Linked DNA regions of Homo sapiens: region 2 is linked to region 1. The links are contacts of gene promoters, found by promoter capture Hi-C in blood cells and fetal thymus (Javierre and others, 2016). All regions are on one chromosome and are shown on one strand. The core of a region is centred on a gene start or on the middle of the fragment in contact, and the rest is flanking DNA. Distances in the headings are between cores, read along the strand shown. Region 1 overlaps LOC107985340 (a long non-coding RNA gene). Region 2 holds the start of IRF3 (interferon regulatory factor 3).

Region 1 (2,700 bases), core at 32-2,531:
GACAGATGCTCTGTTGCTCAGGCTGGAGTGCAGTGGTGCCATCTCGGCTCACTGTAACCTCTGCCTCCTGGGTTCAAGCGATTCTCCTGCCTCAGCCTCCCAAGTAGCTGGGATTATAGGCGTCACCATGCCTAGGTGATTTTTGTATTTTTAGTAGAGATAGGTTTCACCATGTTGGCCAGCTGGTCTCGAACCCCTGACCTCAAGTGATCCACCCGTCTTGGCCTCCCAAAGTGGGGGGATCACAGGCGTGAGCCACCACACCCGGCCGCACACACTTTACTCAGGCCGTTTGGTCACTGAATGTGGCAGTCCCAGAAGAGGCTTCATCTCTTCTTGGCTGCATCTTGGATAGTCCCTGAGACAGAAGTGTTGGAGGAGTTACAGAGACCCGAGGTCAGGAGATCGAGACCATCCTGGCTAACATGGTGAAACCCCGTCTCTACTAAAAATACAAAAAATTAGCCGGGCTTGGTGGCGGGCGCCTGTAGTCCCAGCTACTCAGGAGGCTGAGGCAGGAGAATGGCATGAACCCGGGAGGCGGAGCTTGCAGTGAGCCGAGATCACACCACTGCACTCCAGCCTGGGTGACAGAGCAAGACTCCGTCTCAAAAAAAAAGTACAATTTTGCCCGCTGACCATTGTTGGGAATGATGCATCTTTCTTTCCGCTGGACAGCCTGGTGGTCATGCCCTCCAGATGGCAGTTGAGTCCTGAGGGGGCCAAGTAGGGGATTCAAACTAATGCTGGTTTAGGCACCAGAATCCCCTTGTTGGACCGACATGGTGCTAGATCAGGAGTTGGCACACTATAGCCTGTGGGATACATCTGGCCTGTGACCTGTTTCTGTGTGGTCTATAAACTAACAAAGCTTTTCATATATTTTAAAGAATGTGTTGTTGTTGTTGTTGTTGTTGTTGTTTTTGAGATGGAATCTCGCTTTGTCGCCCAGGCTGGAGAGCAGTGGTATGATCTTGGCTCACTGCAAGCTCCGCCTCCTGGGTTCACGCCATTCTCCTGCCTCAGCTTCCCGAGTAGCTGGGATTAAAGGTGCCCGCCACCATGCCCGGCTAATTTTTGTATTTTTAGTAGAGACGGGGTTTCTCCATGTTGGCCGTCCTGGTCTTGAACTCCTGACCTCAAGTGATCCACCTGCTTCAGCCTCCCAAAGTGCTGGAATTACAGGCGTGAGCCACGGCTCAGCCAAGAATTGTTTAAAAAAAAAAAAAAAAAAAAAAAGCCAGGTGTGGTGGCTCACCTCTGTAATCCTAGCACTTGGGGAGGCTGAAGCAGAAGGATCACTTGAGCCCAGGAGATCAAGACTAGCCTGGGCTATGTGGTGAAAGCCTGTCTCTACAAAAAATTAAAAATTAGCTGGGTGTGCTGGTGCACGCCTGTAGTCCCAGCTACTCGGGAGGCTGAGGTGGGAGGATCGCTTGAGCCTGGGAGGTCGAAGCTGCAGTGAGATATTATTGTACCACAGCTCTCCAGCCTCAGTGACAGAGCAAGATCTTGTTTCAAAAAGAAAAAAGAAAAAGATGACTATGCCACAGAAAACAAATGCCCTACAAAACCCAAAATACTATTACCTGGTTCTTTCCAGAAAAAGTTGGCTCACTCCTGTGTTAGTTGAAACAACCTGCTGATATTACTTATGTGGCTTAACTGAGACAATGTAACGGTAATTCCAGCCAAGCTTAACAACAAAATCCAATGACTGTCTCTTCTCAGGTTGGGGAGGTAAGCTGTGGCATGCCCATTGTGGATGGGGGTTGCTTTTAGGCTCATCTGTTGTCACCCTGTAATTGTTTGTAAAGACATCAAAGATCAGATCAGTTTTTTTATTTTTAAATTTCTTTTTTTGGTATTTTAGCAGATCAGCCTAAAGTTCTCTGCTCTGCTTATAATGGACAATAGAGTCGCCTTAGACTATATCCTGGTTGTCCAAAATAAGATGTACTGGTCCTCTGGGACCAGTTTTTACTTTTTTTTTTTCTGAGATGGAGTTTCACTCTTGTTGCCCAGGCTGGAGTGTAATGGCATGATCTCAGCTCGTTGCAACCTCTGCCTCCCGGGTTCAAGCGATTCTTCTGCCTCAGCCTCCCAAGTAGCTGCGATTACAGGCATGTGGCACCATGCCCGGCTAATTTTGTATTTTTAGTAGAGACGTGGTTTCTCCATGTTGATCAGGCTGGTCTTGAACTCCTGACCTGAGGTGATTCCCCCTCCTCGGCCTCCCAAAGTACTGGGATTACAGACGTGAGCCACCACACCTGGACTTTTATTTTTTTTTTATTTTAATTTTATTGTATTAGAGACAGGGTCTTGCTCTGTCACCTAGGCTGGAGTACAGTGGCGTGATCTTGGCTCACTGCAACCTCAACCTTCTGGGTTCAGGGGATCCTCCCGCCTCAGCCTCCCAAGTAGCTAGGATTACAGGTGTGCCACCACTTCTGGCTAATATTGTTTTTGTATTTTTTGTAGAGATGGGCCTTCACTACGTTGCCCAGGCTGATCTTGAACTCCTAAGATTAAATGATCTGCCGGTCTCAGCCTCCCAAACTGCAGGGATTACAGGCATGAGCCACCTTGAGACTTATTCACAGTTGGCTGAGTCTAGGACCCTGGGGGACATAGTTGAGAGTTGAGGTCAATACTCAAGGTTGGCCTGATCTTGCTGTTGGGAGTCCCATCAAAAGT
Region 2 (2,700 bases), core at 149-2,648, 440 kb after region 1:
ATTCCCGTAACCCTGCAGCTCCAACCCTGCTTGCGCCCCACCATCAGTCAGCGGATCCGGCTAGCCCCGCCCCTCCCGTTCTAGCCCCACCCACCAGCGTTGGCACGAGCCCGCCCCTCGCGCGCCACCTCCGCCTTCTCAGCCGGGCCCACTAGGAGTCCTTTCCGCCCAGCGCGCAGCTCCGGGTTTCCAGCGTCCCAGGTCGTCGCACGCACCTGGAAGATTCCGAAATCCTCCTGCTGTGCATCCTGCCGTAGGCCGTGCTTCCAAGGGATGCGGAAGCGCGTGCGGCTCTTGTTCACCCAGGCCACGCCCTCCAGTTGCCCCAGGTCCAGCTGCGACACCAGCCAGGGCAGGATCCGTGGCTTTGGGGTTCCCATGGTCCGGCCTGCGCGTATAGGGCATTTCCTGGGCGCGACCGGCCTCCCCCGGACCCACCTGGCCTGGAGTTTCCGCACCCAGACCTCCTTCTCACGGGCCACGGCACAGGTCCTTCACCCATATTTTCGGGGGTACAAACAGGAAACCTCCTCTTCCCATCCTCCCATCCTCCCGAGAGGCTCTCTAATCAGCTAGGGTTCCTTCCCATATCCATGGCACATCCTTCCCCAGCGTCTTCAGTGCAGACCCTCCACTCCCTCAATTCCGCCAGTATAGACCTCCTCCCTCCCCCACATCATCGAAAGTAAGTATCCCCACTTTCAGGGTAGCATCCTCTTTCCCTAGTTATTTCAGTGCAGAATCGATTCACGTGTAAGCCTCTACCTCCTGCACTTACCCCAATGTAGACCCCCTTCCACAGTCCCCCTACAGAAGATCTCCCAAAACATTTCCAACACAGAACTTCCATTCAATTCCCCTCCGACTGCCCGCCTCCCTCCTCCAGGACAGAGCACGCCCCAGGTTTCGAGACTGAACTACCCCCATCTACGGAGTCCACCCCTCCCTCTCTAGAACCCCCTCAGTGTAGACGCCTCCTCTTTTCCTCTTTCCTCCCTACTTTTTCTAGTTTTTCTGCAGCCGACCTCCAGCGTCGGCCACTGTAGCTCCTTCCTTGCTCCACTTTCCCCAGAGTACACAGCCTGCCTTTCCACTCTCCGTGCAGACCCATCCTCTTTCCCGCTCCTCGCTCTCGGACGCCACCAACGCTCTCCCGGGCTCTTCCGCGTTACCTACGATGGAAGGTCGGGGCGTGCGGGCAGCTGGAACCCACCCCTGTCTTGGAGCTCCGGGTAGCTCTCAAACTCGAGGCTGCGCACCCCCTTTCCCGTCAGCTGAGCTCTAGAGCGCTGGGGCTTTCTTTTTGATCGACTTCTTGAAATAAAACCAACTTTATCATTCTTTGGGTAACAGACCCAAAAGCCGATGGGACGGCCCGCTGGGCTGTTCCCGCCCCTATGCCCTTTTTTGGGTTTCCGGCCAGAGGCATGCTGGGAGCGTCACATGCAAATTGAGCGTGCACCCAGCGTTCCGCCCTTTCTACGCTGGGCCGGTTATCGACCCGGCCCAGTGCGCAGGCGCGGGAAAGTTGAACTAATAAAGTTTGTACGAGTTCAGTGGAGGAGACCGCAAGTTGAGTGGAGGAGGCGGCGGTGGGGCCCCGGACCAGGTCAGCGGGGTGTTGACGAGGGGTGGGGTGAGGAGGGAAGAGGAGGGGGCCGGGATCCAGTGGTGGGCACCCCAGTCCCGCTTCTCTGATATCCAAGGGTCCAGGGTCCTCTAGATTCCAGCAGGGGTCGGAGATTTGGAACTACACCTCACAGCAGGCTGCGCGGCGAAGAAGCGCGGACCTAGGGGAAGATTTGCCCTGAAACCTCTTGGGATTGGTAGTTCCCGATGCTTTAAGGGTTTCAGGAGTTTGGCATATGCCTCTTATAGAATCCAGGAGTTGGGGCGCTAAGCCTCTTCTTCCTGGGAGACCTAAGGGTCTGGGGCTCCAGTTCCTTTTTCTCTAAGACTCAGAAGTCCAGGACCCCAGCTCCCTCCTCCTTTAGACCCACGAATCTGGGCACCCAGCCCCACCACCTTTCCTTGGATCGAAGAGTCTTTTTCCTGATCGCTTTTTCGTCTGAGGACTCAAGAGTCTAGGCCCCCAGACCCACACTCTCCAAAGGACCCAGGAGTCCAGGCCCTCAGCACCTTCCTTGGGACTCACAAGTCCTGGTCCCCAAGCCTCCACTTCTTGCTAAACCCTTGGAGTCCAGTCCCTAACCCTCTCTCTCACAGGTGCCTCCATGGCAGGCTCTGAAGAGCTGGGGCTCCGGGAAGACACGCTGAGGGTCCTAGCTGCCTTCCTTAGGCGTGGTGAGGCTGCCGGGTCTCCTGTTCCAACTCCACCTAGGTAAGAGGAGTGGCCCTTCTCCCCCAGGGGCCAGCATTTGAGGCTCCCTCCTAACTCTTGCTCCTGGTCTCAGTCTGTCTCCTCTCTTTATATCTGGCTCTATTCTCTGTCTTTGGGGTTTTGGAGAGAGGTCCTCAGCGGGGGAGGGAGGGAGTTGGGGAAAGAGACTGCTTGCAGGGGATCTCTGGTGGGGTCAGTCTCTGAAGTCCTCCTCTCCAGAAGCCCTGCCCAAGAAGAGCCAACAGACTTCCTGAGCCGCCTTCGAAGATGTCTTCCCTGCTCCCTGGGGCGAGGAGCAGCCCCCTCTGAGTCCCCTCGGCCTTGCTCTCTGCCCATCCGCCCCTGCTATGGTTTAGAGC

The links. Contacts are between HindIII fragments. The CHiCAGO score rates a contact against its expected background, and 5 or more counts as called.
Region 2: the fragment with the promoter of IRF3 here is called in contact with a fragment that was not itself captured in region 1 in 1 of 17 cell types (naive CD4 T cells); the score reaches 5.6 in naive CD4 T cells.

Annotation. Positions count from the first base shown.
Region 1 is chr19:49,226,435-49,229,134 of GRCh38, forward strand. The region is part of intron 1 of LOC107985340 (a long non-coding RNA gene); the gene reads left to right. Among named protein-coding and RNA genes, the nearest start is that of TRPM4, 70 kb to the left of the region's middle. The HindIII fragment of the contact is 825 bases long and covers 870-1,694 here.
Region 2 is chr19:49,664,459-49,667,158 of GRCh38, forward strand. It overlaps IRF3 (interferon regulatory factor 3), which reads right to left and starts at 1,399. Exons shown (of 8, transcript NM_001571.6): 1 at 1,173-1,399; 2 at 216-388. The coding sequence starts at 380. BCL2L12 (BCL2 like 12) reads left to right here and starts at 1,475. Exons shown (of 7, transcript NM_138639.2): 1 at 1,475-1,609; 2 at 2,227-2,341; 3 at 2,561-2,700. The coding sequence starts at 2,235. RefSeq lists silencers at 1,378-1,527, 1,568-1,647. The HindIII fragment of the contact is 30,887 bases long and covers 1-2,700 here.